Regions from separate parts of the Homo sapiens genome. Here all the other regions are linked to region 4. Evidence: promoter capture Hi-C in 16 types of primary human blood cells and fetal thymus (Javierre and others, 2016). All regions are on one chromosome and are shown on one strand. The core of a region is centred on a gene start or on the middle of the fragment in contact, and the rest is flanking DNA. Distances in the headings are between cores, read along the strand shown. Region 1 has its middle 3.8 kb from the start of FFAR2. Region 2 overlaps CD22 (CD22 molecule). Region 3 holds the start of FFAR3 (free fatty acid receptor 3). Region 4 holds the start of HPN (hepsin).

Region 1 (4,483 bases), core at 829-3,328, 400 kb after region 4:
TGCAGGCCGGGCACAGTGGTTCGTGCCTGTAATCCCAGCACTTCGGGAGGCCGGGGCACGTGGATCACTTGAGGTCAGGAGTTGAAGACTTGCCTGGCCAACATGGCGAAACCCTGTCTCTAATACAAATACAAAAATTAGCCGGGGGTGGTGGCAAGCATCTGTAATCCCAGCTACTCAGGAGGCTGAGACAGAAGAATTGCTGGAACCCAGGAGGAGGAGGGTTCAGTGAGCTGAGATCACGCCACAACACTGTAGCCTGGGAGACAGAGCAAGACTCCATCTAAAAATAAAAATTTTAAAAAATAATAAAAATAAATAAATTTTAAAAATACCGTGTGCAAATGATGAAAGGCAAGACACAGAGTCTCTCAGAAGAATAGAGCGTCCAGAAATAGTACCACACACACATACAACCAATGGGTTTTTAGTACAGGTGCCGCGGCAATTCAACAGGGAAAGGAAAATCTGGAATAATTGGATAAGGAGGTAAAAGCTTCTTAGGACATAAAAGCACAAACCATAGAAGAAAAACCAGATAAATTAGACCTTGTCAAAATGTAACACTTTTTTGCTTTTCAAGAGACAATTAAGAAAATGAAGACCAGGCACAGTGGCTCATGCCTGTAATCCCAGCACTTTGGGAGGCCGAGGTGGGCAGACTGCTTGAGCTCAGGAGGTCGATGCCAGCTTGGACAAAATGGCAAAACCTCATCAGTACAAAAAATAGAAAAATTAGTCAGGCATGGTGGCAGGTGCCTGCAGTCCCAGCTACTTGGAGGGCTGAGGCGGAAAGGTCACCTGAGCCTGGGAGGTCAAGGCTGCAATGAGCTGTGATGGAGCCACTGCACTCCAGCCTGGGCAACAAAGTGAAACTCTGTCTCAAAAAAAAAAAAAATTAAAAGAAGAGAAAAGTCACAGAATGGCAGAAAATATTGGTAATATATACATCTGACAAATGACTAGTACCAAGAATATAATAAAGAACTCTCAGAACTCAACTATATGAAAATAATCCAATTTTTCTTTTTTTTTTTTTTTTTTTTGAGACAGAGTTTCACTCTGTTGCCCAGGCTGGAGTGCAGTAGTATGATCTTGGCTCACTGCAACCTCTGCCTCCTGGGTTCAAGCGATCCTCCTGCCTCAGCCTCCCTAGTAGCTGGGATTACAGGCGCCCGCCACCACGCCCAGCTAAATTTTGTATTTTTAGTAGAGATGAGGTTTCACTATGTTGGCCAGGCTGGTCTGAAACTCCTGACCTCAAGCAATCCACCCACTTCAGCCTCCAAAAATGCTAGGATTACAGGTGTGAGCCACCATGCCCAGCCTAAAATTTTTTAAATGAGCAAAATATTTAAACAGACATTCCACGAAAGAAGATATACAAATGGCTCATAAGTACTTGAAAAAATGCTTAACACCAATAATCATCAAGAAAGTATAAATTAAGACCACAACAAAGGCCGGGTACGGTGGTCCACGCCTGTAATCCCAGCACTTTGGGCAGCTGAGGCGGGCAGATCACCTGAGGTCAGGAGTTCAAGACCAGTCTGGCCAACATGGCAAAACCCCATCTGTATTAAAAATACAAAAATTAGCCAGGTGTGGTGGCACGTGCCTGTAATCCCAGCTACTCAGGGGGCTGAGGCACGAGAATGGCTTGAACCCAGGAGGTGAAGTTTGCAGTGAGTGGAGATGGCGCCACTGCACTCCAGCCTGGGCGACAGATCGAGACTCTGTCTCACACACACACACAAAAATACCATGGCATACTTATTAGAATGCCCACAATTAAAAACTAACAATTGTCAAGTGTTGGTGAGGATGTGGAGCAACTGAAATGCTCGTAGGCTGCTGGTGGGAATGCAACATGGCACAGCTACTTTGGAAAACTGGTAGTTTCTTAAAAAGTTAATAAAACGTTTTACCATACCACCTGGCCAATACACTGCCAGGTATTTGCCCAACAGCACTGAAAACATTTCCACACAAGAATGTTCTTAACAGCTGTATTCATACTAGACAAAAACTTTTTAAAAAAAACCCAAACCAACCAAATATCCATCAACAGATGAATGGATAAATAAAATAGGAAATATCCTTAAAACAGAATACTATTCAGCAATAGAAAAGATGCTTAACCTGTAAGAGGGGAATCGAAATCTAGGAGGTCAGGGCCTTTTTTTTTTTTTTTTTTTTTTTTGAGACAGAGTCTTGCTCTGTCGCCCAGGCTGGAATGCAGTGGCGCAATCTTGGCTCACTGCAACCTCCGCCTCCTGGGTTCAAGTGATTCTCCTGCTTCAGCCTCCTGACTAGCTGGGATTACAGGCGTGCGCCACTATCCCGGCTAATTTTTGTATATTTAGTAGAGACGGGATTTCGCCATGTTGGCCAGGCTGGTCTCGAACTCCTTACCTCAGGTAATCCACCTGCCTCGGCCTCCCAAAGTGCTGGGATTACAGGTGTGAACCACTGTGCCCAGCCAGACAGGGATTTCTTAAGGAAGTAAATGGTTATCTGAAAGAAAGCTACAAATTAACTGTGAAAGTTGGAATGGGTAACAAGAAATAAAGACATACCAGGCAGGGGCTGGTTCAAGCTCCCCATGGCAGATGGAAAACATGACACATTCACAGAAGTGGAAAATGGCCCTGCCCAGACAGCAAAGAGAGAGAAGAGTGATGTGAGTGGAAGCTGGCAAGGGCCATGCTAGGCAGGCCTTTTTAAGGATGTTGATATTTCTCCTAAAAGCAGTGAGAAGTCTCTGAAAGGACAAGAAGGTCGTATAATTGGATTGACATTTTTAAAATGATTCCACTAATACAGTATGGAGAACTGACTGCCAGGGAAGCAGATGGATGAGAGGAAGTGAGTCAGGGCCCTGCTGAAATCCTGGTAGGGATGATGGCACTGAGATGGGATGATGGAGATGGAGACGGATGGATGGATTCATATTTGGAATCCATAAGTATTTGGGGAGTACATCAGACTGCATTCTAGGGATAAGGAAGAAGATAATATTGAGATTCACTTTAAGACTGACTCTAGTCAGGCTCAGTGGCTCACGCCTATAATCCCAGCACTTTGGGAGGCCAAGGCGGGCGAATCACTTGAGGTCAGGAGTTCGAGACCAGCCTGACCAACATGGTGAAACCCCGTTTCTACTAAAAATACAAAAATTAGCCGAGTGTGGTGGCACATGCCTGTAATCCCAGCTACTCGGGAGGCTGAGGCATGAGAATTGCTTGAATCTGGGAGGCAGAGGTGGCAGTGAGCCGAGACTATGTGCCACTGCACTCCAGCCTGGGCGACAGAGTGAGATTCAGTCTCGAAATTAAAAAGAAAAAAAAAAAAGACTGACTCTAAGATAATGGTGCAGGAGATGTGATGGGAAGAGATCTTACGCCCCAAGACAGGGAAGGGTGGAAGAAGGAAGATCTGAGGCCAGGTCTGGACACATTTGATTTGGTTGATTTGGGACACCTGTGAGACACCCAATGGCAGTGTCAACTAGGCAGTTGAGCGTGTACATGTGAAGCTCACAGAAACCTAGGGTGAAGATTCAAACCAGGGGTGTCATGAAGGTGGTAACTGGAACTACGGAAACAGTTGCAGTCGACTAGAAGGAGAGCACAGGCGAGAACAGGAAAGAACCTGGAGCCAAGCTTGAAGGAAGTCACCATTTCGGGGATGAGTAGGGGAATGGTGAGCTAGCAAAGGGGTACGAGAAGTGACCAAAGGAAAGAGAGGGAAGCTAGCAGCGTAACGTATCAGAATTTGTGAAAAGAGGATGTTTCCAGAAGGGCGTGGAAATTGTGTTGAATGCTAATAAAATAAGAAAAGCGTAAGTCCACTGAATTTAGGAACATGGAGGTCACTGCTAACATCGGGAAGAGAAAATCCCATGGAAAATAGGCACAGAACCCAGATTAGGGTGGACTGAGGGGCGAGTGAGAATTAAGAATGTGGAAGTGATTACACAGAACTTTAGATAAGGGTCCAACTTCCTGTGATGACAGGCTGCATTATAAAGACGATGAGAGAAAACTGAACTTGGAAGGAACTGTGAAGGATATTGCTCTTGTGAAAGTTTACCCCCTTGAACTCGGTCTGAGAGGTTGGGTTTCCTTTTCCTGTGACGTAGGTGGACATCATGAACTGTGAGACTGAAAGCCTCCTTGGTGATGCTCCCTTCATAACTGCGGTGAACATTCATAACTGCTGTGAACCCAGAGAGGGGGTTTCGTTGGGGCGTCTTCCACAGGGGGACTCACGACAGTGACGGCGAAAGGCAGGAGGTGGGGGGAGAAGAACGTGCAGAGACAGAGAGGCAGTCCCACTCCTCAACACTTGTTTTCCAATGAGTTTCCTGGATTCTGCAATTAAATCCAGATCCTCGTGCATGTTTATAGGAAATCATAAAAGCGAAATGACACAAATAAATTTGGTGGCAACAAGAGAGAATGGTCTCTTTCTTAGTTCT
Region 2 (4,559 bases), core at 1,119-3,618, 290 kb after region 4:
CCTACAGAGCCCTAGATGGTGACCTGGAAAGCTTCATCCTGTTCCACAATCCTGAGTATAACAAGAACACCTCGAAGTTTGATGGGACAAGACTCTATGAAAGCACAAAGGATGGGAAGGTTCCTTCTGAGCAGAAAAGGGTGCAATTCCTGGGAGACAAGAATAAGAACTGCACACTGAGTATCCACCCGGTGCACCTCAATGACAGTGGTCAGCTGGGGCTGAGGATGGAGTCCAAGACTGAGAAATGGATGGAACGAATACACCTCAATGTCTCTGGTAAGGCCTTCGGGGAGCGGGTCCTCTGCTCTGGGCAGGGGTGAGTGGGAGGCAGGAAATACCTGACTCCTGGCACAGAGCTCACAAACCGAGCTTCCTGCAGAGCTCAGGCAGGGGACGCCAGCGGATGACGATGGCGATGCAGCAGCACTAGACAGAGCTGCGGGACCTCGGATGTCCCATCTGACCCTCAGTTCCTGCCCCTCTGGGACCTGGATTCCAAAGTTATCGGATCTCCTGATCTTTCCCTCTTTCTTTCTCACCATGTATTTTTCAGCTTTTGTGACAAACTCGTGTTTGGCCTTAGTACTGGAACCATCCAAGCACCGCATTCCTTTAGTGGGGTGGGTCTGCATGTAACCAGCCTCAGCTCTCCCCCAGGCTGGACCGCCCCCTTCAGACATTGGGGTCTGAAGCTGCATCGCTCACCCCAAACTTAGGGCTGCTCAGAGCTCCCTATAGAGGAAACTGGGTGTGGAACGGAGTAACCACACTCCCTAGGGCAGAGGCCCCAGACCTGTGTTTGATGGGTCAAATCCACCCCTACATGTGCAGTGCCATAACTGAGCCTGTGTTATAAAAATCATAAAATGTTTGTTTTACTTTTTTTCCTCTTCTTTTCCCCTTCCCCTTCCTTTCCCTTTTTATGAGACAGGGTCTCGCACTGTCATCACCCAGGCTGGAGTGCAGTGGCGCGATCTCAGCTCACTGCAGCCTTGATCTCCCGGGTTCAAGCAATCCTCCCACCTCCAAAGTAGCTAGGATCACAGGTGCATGCCACCATGCCCAGCTAACTTTTTAATTTGTTGTAGAAATGGGTCTTGCTATGTTGCCAGGCTGGTCTTGAACTCCTGGCCTCAAGCAATCCTCCTGCTTCAACCTCTCAAAGCATTAGGATTACAGGCATGAGTCACCGCACCCGGCCTGATCTTCTGATTTTTCAAGAGACGATGGAAATCTAGATTTTCCAGTGAAATCTCCCAGCATGTTAATGTTCATGGCAAGTTCTCATGAGCTCTTCAAGGTCAGATGACACTGTTGTTGAACCCCAAAGGCCAGGTTTGAGCTCCCGATGCGTAGTCAGCCAAACACTGACACCTCAGTGCTTAGAAGCTGAGATAGGATTATTTAATTTAGCCAAAGCAAGGGGACAGAAGAGAGAAACTCTCAAATCTGACCTGACTTTGAGCGTTAGTGGGGGCTTTTATGAGTAAAGTAGGTGTGCAGGAGGTGACCTCCCGATCGTCAAAGCTGTTGTGCCCCTCGGCTCATCAAATTTCTGGATGTCATCAAGGAGGTCTGTGTGACCTAAGGATCATTGTTCTTTGAAAGAGAGACAAGTTCATTTATCTTGCAGGCAGCTGCCAGGGAGTCAGGATGTAAGTTAAACAATTATGAGTGAATTAATGGTTACCTGCTACTGAAATGACCAAATGTAACTAATCATGCATGGAGGAAGGAAAGGACAAAGAGAAAAGAAAAGAAGTAAAACGAACATCTTATAATTTTTATAACATAGGTTCAGTTATAGCACTGCACATGTAGGGGTGGCTTTGACCCATCAAACACAGGTGTGGGGGGCCCCTGCCACAGGGAGTGTGGTCACTCCGTTCCACACCGTTTCCCGGATGGGCAGTTCTGAGCAGCCTTAAATTTGGGGTGAGCAATGCAACTTCAGACCCCGCTGTCTGAAGGAGGTGGTCCAGCCTTGGGGAGAGCTGAGGCTGGGTGCACACAGACCCACTCCACTAAAGGAATGCGGTGCGTGGATGGCTGCAATACTGAAGGAAGCCATGAAAGTAACACAAGTTTGTCAAAGCTGAAAAGTCCGTGAACTAAACTGATAAAATTCACTTAGAGGTGGTGGGAATAGGCCGGGCACGGTGGCTCACGCCTGTAATCCCAGAACTTTGGGAGGCCGAGGCAGGCGGATCACAAGGTCAGGAGATCGAGACCATCCTGACTAACACAGTGAAACCCTGTCTCTACTAAAAATGCAAAAAGTTAGCCAGGCGTGGTGGCAGGCGCCTGTAGTCCCAGCTACTCAGGAGGCTGAGGCAGGAGAATGGCGTGAACCCGGAAGGTGGAGCTTGCAGTGAGCTGAGATCACGCCACTACACTCCAGTCCGGGCGACAGAGCGAGACTCTGTCTCAAAAAAAAAAAAAAAAAAAAAAGAGGTGGTGAGGTGGTGGGAATAGAACTTTGCAATCATTCAGAAAGCAGACATCCGGCAATGAGCATGAAAGAAAAGTAGATCACAGTTCCCAAGGAGGCTTAGTGTGGTCAAGGCCTTTCAGAGGGGATTTCGGGTGAGCAAAAGTGATTCAAAGTGGAGAAAAGCAGGACTGCGTTGGGTGCAGTGGTTCCCGCCTGTAACCCCAGCACTTTGGGAGGCTGAGATCGGAGGATCGTTTGAGCCCAGGAGTTTGAGACCAGCCTGGGTAACATGGCAAGACCCTGTCTCTACAAAATGTTTAAAAAACTAGCTAGGTGTGGTGGCACATGCCTGTAGTCCCAGTTACTCAGGGGGCTGAGGTGAGAGGATTGCTTGAGCCTAGGAGGTTGAGGCTACAGTGAGCTAGGATTGCGCCACTGCACTCCAGCCTGGGTGACAAAGCAAGACCCTGTCTCTAAAGAAAAAAAGAGGCCGGGTGTGGTGGCTTACACCTGTAATCCCAGCACTTTGGGAGGCCAAGGCGGGAGGATCACTTGAGGTCAGGAGTTCAAGACCAGCCTGGCCAACATGGCGAAACCCTGTCTCTACTAGAAATACAGAAAAATTAGCTGGGTGTGGTGGTGGGCACCTGTAATCCCAGCTACTCGGGAGGCTGAGGCAGGAGGATCACTTGAACTGGGGAGGTAGAGGTTACAGCGAGCCAAGATCGCGCCACTGCACTCCAGCCTGGGTGACAGAGGGAAACTCCATCTCAAAAAAACAACAACACAACAACAACAACAATAACAACAAAAAAACAAAGCAGGACTGGAGAGAGGTGGAATGAAGTGGCAAGGGGTTCCTGAGGGGTGATTTGGGACAGGACATCTAAAGCCAGGTGTACGCTCACGTCCTCAGTCCCCCAGGCTCCTGCACGGGCTCTGTTCTTTTGCAGAAAGGCCTTTTCCACCTCATATCCAGCTCCCTCCAGAAATTCAAGAGTCCCAGGAAGTCACTCTGACCTGCTTGCTGAATTTCTCCTGCTATGGGTATCCGATCCAATTGCAGTGGCTCCTAGAGGGGGTTCCAATGAGGCAGGCTGCTGTCACCTCGACCTCCTTGACCATCAAGTCTGTCTTCACCCGGAGCGAGCTCAAGTTCTCCCCACAGTGGAGTCACCATGGGAAGATTGTGACCTGCCAGCTTCAGGATGCAGATGGGAAGTTCCTCTCCAATGACACGGTGCAGCTGAACGTGAAGCGTGAGTCTCCCCGGCATGCCTGTGGGAAGGGCAAGGTCTGTGTCACCTTCTCCCCAGCCCCGCAGGGGGCATGCACCCAGGGCAGGGGGAAGCCTGCACAGACGGCGGCATCCTCCAGCCCTGGTCACGCCGCCTTGTCAGCCCTGGTGTTTCGGGAAAAAGATTTGCTCTAGCCTAACAGAATAAAATGGTCCATCCTCAAGCCATGACATGAATTGGGGATTATCTGGTTAGGTCTTTTTGTTCCCCTCTTGGTGGGGATTTTTTTCGCATCATTATCTTGTGCCTCATTCATTCAATAAATACGTATCATGAACCTACTAGGTACCAGGCCTTATTACGGCTGCCAATGGGGGGCATGGGGCGGTGGGCAGGGTGCAGCAGTGAGCAAAACTCTTGCCCCACGCGGAGCCAGCGCTGCAGTGAAAGAGACAGACAACAAATGGATTACCAAAGAAATACAGAGCATGAGCCAAGACATTAGAATCTGGAACAAAGCAATGTTAACAAAGAAATATACAACACTATTGTAGGTAGTGATATGTGTGTTAGGAAAAAAATAAGGCCGAGAGAGGGGAGTGATGGAGAGAGACCTCTCTAAGAAGGTGAGCACTTAGGCCGGGTGCGGTGGCTCACGCCTGTAATCCTAGCACTTTGGAAGGCCGAGGCGGGGGGATCACAAGGTCAGGAGATCGAGACCATCCTGGCTAACATGGTGAAACCCCATCTCTAGTAAAAATACAAAAAATTAGCCAGGCATGATGGCAGGCGCCTGTAGTCCCAGCTACTTGGGAGGCCAAGGCAGGAGAATGACATGAACCCAGGAGGCGGAGCTTGCAGTGAGCTGAGATCGCACCACTGCA
Region 3 (4,811 bases), core at 1,501-4,000, 320 kb after region 4:
ATTGATGATATATCCCCAGCGCCCAGAAGACAGAGTGGCACGCAGTAGGTGCTCAGTAAATGTTCGCTCAATGAATGAATGAATGCCTCTACTAGCCTTCCAAAGAAAGTTCTATGTCTGTTTTATCAATATGGAAACAGGCCAGAGAAATTAAGTAACTTCTTTTGGAAGCCAGAAACAAGCCCGGCACTTGTGCAGTGACAACACCAGGGAATTTCAGTAAAAACCCAAACTCCACCCCAGGGAGCCCCAGTGCCTCCTCCCGCATCACAGGGTGCCAGGGCCCACTCTCTTTGACTCCTGCTCCATAGCCCCTGCTGGGTACTGGGCTGCTTCTCCCAGTTCCTCCTGCCTCCCCCCACTTAGGGCAAATCCAGTGCCTCCCTGGGGCCCAGGAGACTCAGTGTGATCCACCCCAGGCGCCTCTCACTCCTGTGAGACCCAAACCTCCTATCAGCTCCCCCAGCAGGCCAAGTCTGTGCACCCGTGACTCCCCTGCCCCAATGTTCCCTCCAGTGGCTCTTTGCCTCTTCAGTATCCACGTCTTCATGATCCTTCCCCTACTCCATCCCCCAAGCCCTCACCACCAAATGTAATGTAAACAGCATGACAGCAAAAACTTTTTGTTCACAACTGCGTGTTGTTTTTTTTTTTTTTTTTTTTTTTTAGACACAGTCTCACTCTGTTGCTCAGGATGGAGTGCAGTGACACAGTCATGGCTCACTGCAGCCTTGAATTCCTGGGCTCAAGCGATTCTTCCATTTCAGCTTCCCAAGTAGCTGGGACCAGAGGCACATGCCACTAAACCCAGCTAATTTCTTTTTTCTTTCTCTCTTTTTTTTTTTTTTTTCCCCTGTGGACATAGGGTCTCCTCATGTTGCCCAGGCTAGTCTCAAACAACCTGTGCTCAAGCAATCCTCCCACCTCAGCCTGCCAAAGTGCTAAAATTACGGACCTGAGCCACCGTACCCAGCCTACTGCTGCACTTTTAACAGCTTAATTGAGATATTATGTACATATCATCAAATTCACCAATGTTAAGTGTACAATTCAATGATTTTTAGTAAATTTACTGAGGTGTGAGTCCATTACCATCAGCTAGTTTTAGAACATTTTCATGACCCTAGTAAAGGATTTTACTTCATGTTCATTTAAACTTAATCTTGGGCCAGGCGGGGTGGCTCACGCCTATAATCTCAGCATTTTGGGAGGCTGGGGTGGACGGATCACCTGAGGTCAGTAGTTCGAGACCAGCCTGGCCAACATGGCGAAACCTCATCTCTACTAAACATACAAAAATTAGCCAGGCGTGGTGGCGGGCACCTGTAATCCTAGCTACTTAGGAAGCTGAGGCATGAGAATTTCTTGAACCCGGGAGGCAGAGTTTGCAGTGAGCCAAGATTGCACCATTGCACTCCAGCCTGGGCGACAACAAGACCCTGTCTCAAAAAAAAAAAAAAAAAAAAAAAAACAACTTAATCTTCATTTCTACCTCCATCCCCCAGACAACCACGAGTCTACTTTCTGACTCTATAACTTTGCCTATTCTGGACATATCATATAAATAAATGAAATCTGACAATATATGTACATGGTCTTTTACGTCTGGCTTGTTTCACTCAACATAAGGCTGTAGTGTGTATGGGTAGCTCATTCCTTTTCTTTGCCAAATAGAATTCCAGTATATGGATGTGCCACTTTTTTATTCACTCACCAGCTGATGGGCTGCCAGGTAACATTTCCACTGTTGGTGACTATGACCAACACTGCTGTGAACATTTAGGACTGAGTCTTTAAGTAGACCTGAGTTTCCACTTCTCTTAAGTAAATACCTACGGTGGAATTGTTGGATCGCATGGTGAATTTATGTTTAACTTTTTAAGCAACTGCCACCTGCTTTCCAAAGCAGGGACACCACCTCCCATTATTCTCACCAGCAGTGAATGAGGCCCCTATCTCTCTACATTCTCGCCGACCATAGGCATTGTCTGACTTTTTGCTTGTGGCCATTCTAGTGGATGTGAAATCATATCTCATTGTGCCCTGTGATTGTTTGAATGAACTAATAGATCACCTGTGAAACTGGACAGCACTTGGGTTTGAACCCTAGTGGTGACATTTCACAAGCTGTATCACCTGGAGCAAGTCACTTCCCTACGGTGAAGGACAAGGATTTTATGACATAAAAGCGTTGCCCTAGAAGCAGTGTCTGCTATGGATTATGTGCCCATGAAAAGGCAGCTGCTGTCATCATCGCCACCACCATTATTATTGTTATTATTATTACATTGTCACCCCAGAGATAATCCTGCACCAGTGACAGGGAAAATAGCAGCTGGCATCCGCTGCCTGCTCACGACCACACGCCAGGCTTCCGTCAAACCACTCAACATGTATTAGTAATCTTTTAATCGACCTACATATTGTTTTAATTTGCATGTGTTAATGCGTTGATCTATGAGATGGGTATTATGATGAGCTCTGTTCTGCAGGGGAGAAAGCAGAAACATGGAGAATTTAAGTCATTTCCCCCAAATCACAAAGTCAGGAAGAAACAGACCTCACGGAGCTCGCTCTCTGTCATTGCATCACACTTCCTGCCCTTACAAGGCAAATTGGATAAATGCCATTCTAGAGAAGCAGACAAAATTCAAGTGAAGAAGGGGAGAGGAAGACGTCGGCTGGGGCCTGCTTAGAGCATCCCAGCTGAGACTGCATGAGGAGGGAGGCACGCAGTTGTGGAATTTGTTCCCCTTTTAGCATGCTGACCAGCCCTGGCAACGGAGCTCAAGGCATCTATGTGCCACTGCTCAACAGTGAGTGACGTCATGGGCACGGCCAGGTCTTTATCAGTTCTGCCGGATAAATAGCCAACTGCACTAGGTCTGGAGAGACAGCAAGGTGCTGTGCGGCAGAGCATTTGGGGTCTCAAAGAAGCAGGTGAGCCTGGGCCCGAGGGGCTGGGTGGAGGAGCACCTTGGTGCTTCTCTGCTGGGGAAGGGACAGGGGACAGGGCATGCTCAGGAAGACAGGCAGGCTGACCCCGCCTGGAAGGCACCCAGAGACAAGAGGGGTGGGCGTAGTGACCTCGTGCCCTTTTAGGGGAGATGCTGCTGGCCAGAGGCCGTTAGGGCCCCCACTACCAACTCCATGTTACTCTCTCTCACCAGTGGCCACCACCATGGATACAGGCCCCGACCAGTCCTACTTCTCCGGCAATCACTGGTTCGTCTTCTCGGTGTACCTTCTCACTTTCCTGGTGGGGCTCCCCCTCAACCTGCTGGCCCTGGTGGTCTTCGTGGGCAAGCTGCAGCGCCGCCCGGTGGCCGTGGACGTGCTCCTGCTCAACCTGACCGCCTCGGACCTGCTCCTGCTGCTGTTCCTGCCTTTCCGCATGGTGGAGGCAGCCAATGGCATGCACTGGCCCCTGCCCTTCATCCTCTGCCCACTCTCTGGATTCATCTTCTTCACCACCATCTATCTCACCGCCCTCTTCCTGGCAGCTGTGAGCATTGAACGCTTCCTGAGTGTGGCCCACCCACTGTGGTACAAGACCCGGCCGAGGCTGGGGCAGGCAGGTCTGGTGAGTGTGGCCTGCTGGCTGTTGGCCTCTGCTCACTGCAGCGTGGTCTACGTCATAGAATTCTCAGGGGACATCTCCCACAGCCAGGGCACCAATGGGACCTGCTACCTGGAGTTCCGGAAGGACCAGCTAGCCATCCTCCTGCCCGTGCGGCTGGAGATGGCTGTGGTCCTCTTTGTGGTCCCGCTGATCATCACCAGCTACTGCTACAGCCGCCTGGTGTGGATCCTCGGCAGAGGGGGCAGCCACCGCCGGCAGAGGAGGGTGGCGGGGCTGTTGGCGGCCACGCTGCTCAACTTCCTTGTCTGCTTTGGGCCCTACAACGTGTCCCATGTCGTGGGCTATATCTGCGGTGAAAGCCCGGCGTGGAGGATCTACGTGACGCTTCTCAGCACCCTGAACTCCTGTGTCGACCCCTTTGTCTACTACTTCTCCTCCTCCGGGTTCCAAGCCGACTTTCATGAGCTGCTGAGGAGGTTGTGTGGGCTCTGGGGCCAGTGGCAGCAGGAGAGCAGCATGGAGCTGAAGGAGCAGAAGGGAGGGGAGGAGCAGAGAGCGGACCGACCAGCTGAAAGAAAGACCAGTGAACACTCACAGGGCTGTGGAACTGGTGGCCAGGTGGCCTGTGCTGAAAGCTAGGTCCTCCGGGGGAGGAGGGTGTAGCTGGCATGTCATCCTCAGGGCGCTTCCTCGCTCACGCCAGGAGGGACTTGGAGTGGCGAGCTGGGGCCCGATGGGGCTTGGGGGCAGAGTAGACATCTAGCCTCCCTAAGGGTATGCGCGCTAAAGCCCAGCTCTCGATCTCACCTCCATCCCCATCCACCCACACACTATGGATTGGGCTCTGGGAAGGGGTCAGGGTGAGAGGCTGCTCTGGAGAACAATGAGGTCCTCATAGCAGCAGGCAGCTCCTGTGTTTTCTTGAGGGTGGCAGAGGAGCTAAGAGCAGTGCCCAGGGTCTGAGGGGGCTGCCCAGTGAGTGGCAGGGGCAGGAGAGGGGAGAACCCCATCCTCAGAGCTGCTCCCAGCCAGCGAGTCAGGAGCGGGGGAGACAGGGCTCCAGGGATGAGGCCGCATTCTGCTCCCACAGCGCCTTTTCCAGAAAGTTCCCATTGCTCAATAAATGTGGATCATCAGAGACATTTATGAACAATGACAGAAGAAAAATTACCCAAATAAATGTGGAAGCAAGCAAAAGAGAACAGTGTTTCCTTCTTCTCCTGTTTTG
Region 4 (4,867 bases), core at 1-2,500:
CCCGTCACCTTCCCCCCATTCCCGTCCCCGAATCTTCGAGCCCGCTTTCCAGGGACCCTACCTGAGGGCCCACAGGTGAAGCCACTTAGTGCCTGATCTGTGTCGGGGTTGGGGGAGCCATGGGCTCAGGGGTGAGGGAGAGTGGAACGGAGCCAGGAAGGGAGGGGGTGCCGTGGAGGGAAGAGAATCGAGGCTGATGCTGGGGTGCAGGGGTGGCATGGGGTGTGTGGTGTGCCCAGCAGTGTGAGTCTCTGGAGAGGTGGGCGCTGGGGAGAAGGAGAGGGAAGGAGAGACGGGTATGGATGGAAAGGCAGAGGAAGCCAGGCTAAACCAGCGTGTCCCAATGAGGGGCCCTGGGCTGAGTGGAGGAAATGGGTGCGGTGGAGGTGGGTTTGGCTGGGCACAGCGGGCACGTGTGGGTAAGCGGGTGGGGCCGGTTGTGCGGGTGGCCTATCTGGGGCAAGCAGCCGAGGCCGACTGTGTCCGGCGTGTGGTTGAGCACGGGCAGGTGTCTGGCGGTGACCCTGCACGTCTGGTGTTTACCTGGCCCTGGGTCTGACGTGGGCCGCGCCTGGCTGCTGGCGGGACAGTGTGTTATCTGCCTGCGGACGCTTCCGGCCACTTGGCCTGGGCCTCTGCCCTTAGCGCTGTGTTTTCCCGGCCAAGCCCCCCATCCCCCCTATCTAGTGCTAGGACTTTCTGGCTCCAGAGGTCACCGCGGCCGGGCGGAGGCTGCCAAAGCAAACCAGCCCCGTGACTTGTAGGAAGCCAGCGGGGGAGGGGCCGGGGCAGGATGAGCAGGGCAGGCGGGAGAGGCTGGGGCTGGGGTTGGGGCCCAGGAATTGGGCAGGGAATTAGGCAGAGGTGCAGCAAGTGGCGGGCACAGCCAGGACCTGGGGCTGGAGGACGCAGAAAGGGCGGGGGGAAGGGTTCGCTGGGTGAGGGTGGAGTGGGCTTAGGGCAGCTGGGGCCCTCCATCTGATCTCTTCTGGTCAGACCCCCACCCTTCAGCCTGCACTTTCTCCCTAAACCCCCAGCCTCCGGCCAGGCCTGTCCCTGTTCCCACATCCCCGCAGACAGGCACACCTGGGTCCCCCTGGAGGTCCAAGGCAAGCCCCGTAGCTGGGCCCGCCTGGTCCAGCCCCCACAAGCCCGGCCCCATCAGCCAGGTGGCCTCCAGTGCTGCCAATCGAATGGTCCGGCCCCTCCCCGCCCCTTCACCCGCCCCTCGCCCAGCCCCCTCCTCCTCAGGTGAGGCAGCCTGGCCTAGCAGGCCCCACGCCACCGCCTCTGCCTCCAGGCCGCCCGCTGCTGCGGGGCCACCATGCTCCTGCCCAGGCCTGGAGACTGACCCGACCCCGGCACTACCTCGAGGCTCCGCCCCCACCTGCTGGACCCCAGGGTAAGGACAAGGGCCCCCAGACTCACAGTTCCAGCCCTGAGGACAGGGGTTCCCTCATCCCCCCACCCAGCCTAATGCCCACCTCCTAATAGAGGGGTTCCTGGGGACCTGAAGAGGGGGCACTATGACGTCCCCCCAAGCACCTAGGTGTTCTGTCCTGCTCTTCCTTCAGACTCAGCCGTTGGACCCCAGTCCTTTCCTCCCCAGACCCAGGAGTTCCAGCCCTCAGGCCCCTCCTCCCTCATACTAGGGAGTCCTGGCCCCCAAATTCCTCCTTTCCCAAGACTTATGATTTCAGGTCCTCAGCTGTCTCCTCCCTCAAACCGGGATCCTCAGTCCCCTGCTCCACCAGGCTCAGGCATGGGGGTCCCCATCCCTGCAAATCCAGGCGTCCCCCCGCTGCTGGTCAGACACTGACCCCATCCTTGAACCCAGCCCAATCTGCGTCCGTGATCACGGCGTGCTCTGGCCAAGGCCCAGTCCCTACAGCCTGCCTGGATGGACGCCTGGGACTGGGGGCGCCAGGACTGGGCTGGGCTGGGCTCCCCCAGGCCCTGCCTCCCCGTCCATCTCCTCACAGGTCCCACCCTGGCCCAGGAGGTCAGCCAGGGAATCATTAACAAGAGGCAGTGACATGGCGCAGAAGGAGGGTGAGTCCCCTTCCCTGAGCCCCAGCTTTGGCTCTGCCTGGCGCCCCGCCCTCTGTGCTCTTTTCTCTACCCTCTACTCTTCGGAGCCCCCTCTCTCTGGGCACCCCTCCCAGATGCATCCCCACCCCTGTTAGTCCTCCTCCACCTGATTAACTATTAACCACATTTTCTGTGCAGCTGTGCCACCACCAGCCTCCCTTCTACCCTATGTGACCTTCCTGGCGTGCTGCCTCAGTTTCCCCTCATCCCCCAGTGATTTCTCAGCTAACTCTGGACTTGTCCTCTGCTGGGGCTGAGGCGGGGAAGCTGTAGCTGTCATGGTTAAGGACACAGATTTGGAGTGAAACACACAGGCTTGCATTTGAATTTGCTCTTGCCATCTTTTTTGCTGTGTGATCTGGTGCAAGTGACATTATTCTTAGGGCTTTGGTCTCCCTCTGGGTCAAGCATGGATACCAGTCCTCCCTCTGTGAGGTTGCTGAGTGCATGACACACACCAGGCACTGGTCTGGGGCTCTGCATATAAGACGCATGCCATCAAGCAGAGCTGTCATGACAGAGGTTGGCAAACTCGGAGTCCCAGAGACCCAGGACCCCCACCGATCCCAGACATTCCTCCACCTCCTGGCTCTGTGGGCAAAAGAGCAGAGGGAGGACTTTGGACTGGGCCTGGATGGATGGAGAGGGGAGAGACGGCAGAGAAACCACCATAAGGATGAGAGAGAGAGACTGCGTCATGGAGTTGCTGGCCCTTGGGAGTCTCTGGGCAGCCCCCAGCTAGCCTGGCTTCCTTTCTACCTCTCACACATGGGACCCAGCTGGAGGGGCGCATGGAGGGGCGTCCTGTTCTTTCTGCCTTCCCCTAGCTGGGGCTGACTCCCTCTCTTCTTCCGCAACCAGGATAGCCGGGCTCAGTCCTGGGCAGTAGCACTTTCTAGCTGTGTGGCCCTGGGCAGACGGCGTGTTCTCCCTGGGCCTCCATTCTCTCATCTGTGAAATGGAGAGGGTGACAGTGCATGTCCAACAGCGTGGGGCGAGGCCTGAAATGCCAGGATGGGCAGGAAGCACTGAGCGTGTTGGCTGAAATGATTAGTTCAGATCTCTGGCCTCCTCGGGTCTCGGCACAGCTGGCAATTCAGACCCCAAACCAATCAGCTGCAGTCCAGAGGGAACCCAGGCTCCCAGTTACTCAGGAGAAGGCATTGCACCCTAGCCGAGCAGGTGGATGACAGAATCCAGCTCCTTGGGGACAATCTCTTTCCTGGAGCTGCCGGAAGGACAGCCCCAGGGCTTGGGCCCATGGGTGAATGAGCCAGGGAAGAAAAGCAGAAAATGCCCGAATGGACAGAGATGGCCTGGGTACAAAGAGAAACAGACACAAAGTGGGCTCTGGTGCCTCCCTGGCAGCTCCGGGCTGGTCTTGGAGGGGAGTCCTGCTGTCAGGGCTAGGGGTGTGGAGGTCGAACCTGGACACAGATGCTGAAGGGTTCCGATTCTGCACTTACTTGCCGGGTGACCCGGGTTTGGTGGCTGCCGGACTTTGGGCCTCCTTTTCTCATCTGTAAACTGGGGGTGATGGCAATGGCGCCTTCCTCGTGAACAGCTGCAAGGATTTAAGTAAGGATGCTGTGCAGGACTGGACGGGGTTAGGGTAGGGCGGTGCGTCCGTGTGTGATTCAGAGAGCCGTTGTGGCTGCAGCGGCTGCTGTTGTTGGTGTCACTGTTATTGCTGCTGGCTTCTTGGTGCTGCCTGGAAACTTGGAATTGGAGGAGGTGATACTGGAGTTGCAATTCCAAGGATGCCAGGCAGAGGGAAGAGCAAGGCTCTTGCTCTTCTCTGGGAAGCTGGGAGGTGACACAGCACTGGTGTGCACGTAGCCAATTGTGGTATTTCTGGAGGTGAAGCTGGAAGTTGAGCTGGGTGGGAGAAGAGGTGTGCAAGCTGGACCAGGCAGGGGTGGGACTGTTTTGGGGAAGAGCTGGCCAATTCCTTGCAGTACCAGGTCTCTCCACAAGGTGGCGCCAGTGGTTAGTCCCTGCTTCTCTTGTCTAACTTGTATTTTACAAGTTCTACTGTTTGGGTTGCTTTTTGGAAGCTCTCTCTGGTACCTGATAGTGACCCACATGGTTGTCTGAGAATTGGGGGAAACATACTCCCAAATCTCTGAAAGCCATGCTTATACCCTAGTGGGGCTGGAAATGCCAGGCTGAGGGACTTAAGCTGTCTGGGGGGTACTAGGGAGTCACAGAGGGTTCTATAGGTAAAGAGGGGACAGGTTGGATTTGGTGTCTCAGTAGGTTCCCCAAGCCTCCGTGTGGAGGGTGCGCTAGAAGGGAGACTGAGCCCAGCGGTTGGATGGGGCCGGAGCAAGGTGCAGATGGAGAGAAAGAAGGAAACGGGGGAAGGAGAGTCACTCAGGAGGATTGGCAGGCTGTCGGGGGAGGGGAATGTTATGCAGATGGGGATGGTCCTAGGAGTGAGGGCCTCTGAGACAGGACCGGGAGGAAGAATATACTTGGGGAGACATTGGGGAGACATTCTGGGACCTGGTAGGGGCAAAGGGACTAGGAGGTCCCAGGGAAAGGTATTTAAAAGGTATTTAAAGGACTGCAGGAGCCCTGACCTGGGACCTGGAAGAGGGTCTAGGGCTGGGGACAGAGGGGAAACTGAGTCCACAGAGGTGGGTGAGACAGACTTAGGGGCAAGGAGGAGCAGGGGGAGGCTGCGGCCAGCCCTACAAACTCTGGATTTTACGGAGTAGGTAGAGGGTGGGTGAAGACAGCAGCCTCAGAGGCGGGAAGGAAAATCAGGTGC

The links. The method cuts DNA at HindIII sites, captures the fragments that hold promoters and counts their contacts. A CHiCAGO score of 5 or more calls a contact.
Region 1: a fragment that was not itself captured here is called in contact with the fragment with the promoter of HPN in region 4 in 3 of 17 cell types (total B cells, naive CD4 T cells and naive B cells); the score reaches 7.6 in total B cells.
Region 2: a fragment that was not itself captured here is called in contact with the fragment with the promoter of HPN in region 4 in 3 of 17 cell types (total CD8 T cells, naive CD8 T cells and naive CD4 T cells); the score reaches 6.5 in total CD8 T cells.
Region 3: the fragment with the promoter of FFAR3 here is called in contact with the fragment with the promoter of HPN in region 4 in 13 of 17 cell types (naive B cells, naive CD8 T cells, non-activated CD4 T cells and 10 more); the score reaches 14.3 in naive B cells.

Annotation. Positions count from the first base shown.
Region 1 is chr19:35,442,250-35,446,732 of GRCh38, forward strand. No RefSeq gene overlaps it. Among named protein-coding and RNA genes, the nearest start is that of FFAR2, 3.8 kb to the right of the region's middle. RefSeq lists enhancers at 33-242, 3,965-4,044. The HindIII fragment of the contact is 3,169 bases long and covers 495-3,663 here.
Region 2 is chr19:35,332,646-35,337,204 of GRCh38, forward strand. CD22 (CD22 molecule) reads left to right here. Exons shown (of 14, transcript NM_001771.4): 3 at 1-279; 4 at 3,391-3,696. Among named protein-coding and RNA genes, the nearest start is that of CD22, 5.7 kb to the left of the region's middle. RefSeq lists a silencer at 660-869. The HindIII fragment of the contact is 4,678 bases long and covers 30-4,559 here.
Region 3 is chr19:35,355,710-35,360,520 of GRCh38, forward strand. It overlaps FFAR3 (free fatty acid receptor 3), which reads left to right and starts at 2,751. Exons shown (of 2, transcript NM_005304.5): 1 at 2,751-2,940; 2 at 3,171-4,780. The coding sequence starts at 3,182. The coding sequence ends at 4,222. RefSeq lists an enhancer at 4,072-4,599. The HindIII fragment of the contact is 8,969 bases long and covers 1-4,811 here.
Region 4 is chr19:35,040,471-35,045,337 of GRCh38, forward strand. HPN (hepsin) reads left to right here and starts at 1,251. Exons shown (of 13, transcript NM_001384133.1): 1 at 1,251-1,402; 2 at 1,983-2,052. The coding sequence starts at 2,037. RefSeq lists an enhancer at 1-722. The HindIII fragment of the contact is 15,827 bases long and covers 1-4,867 here.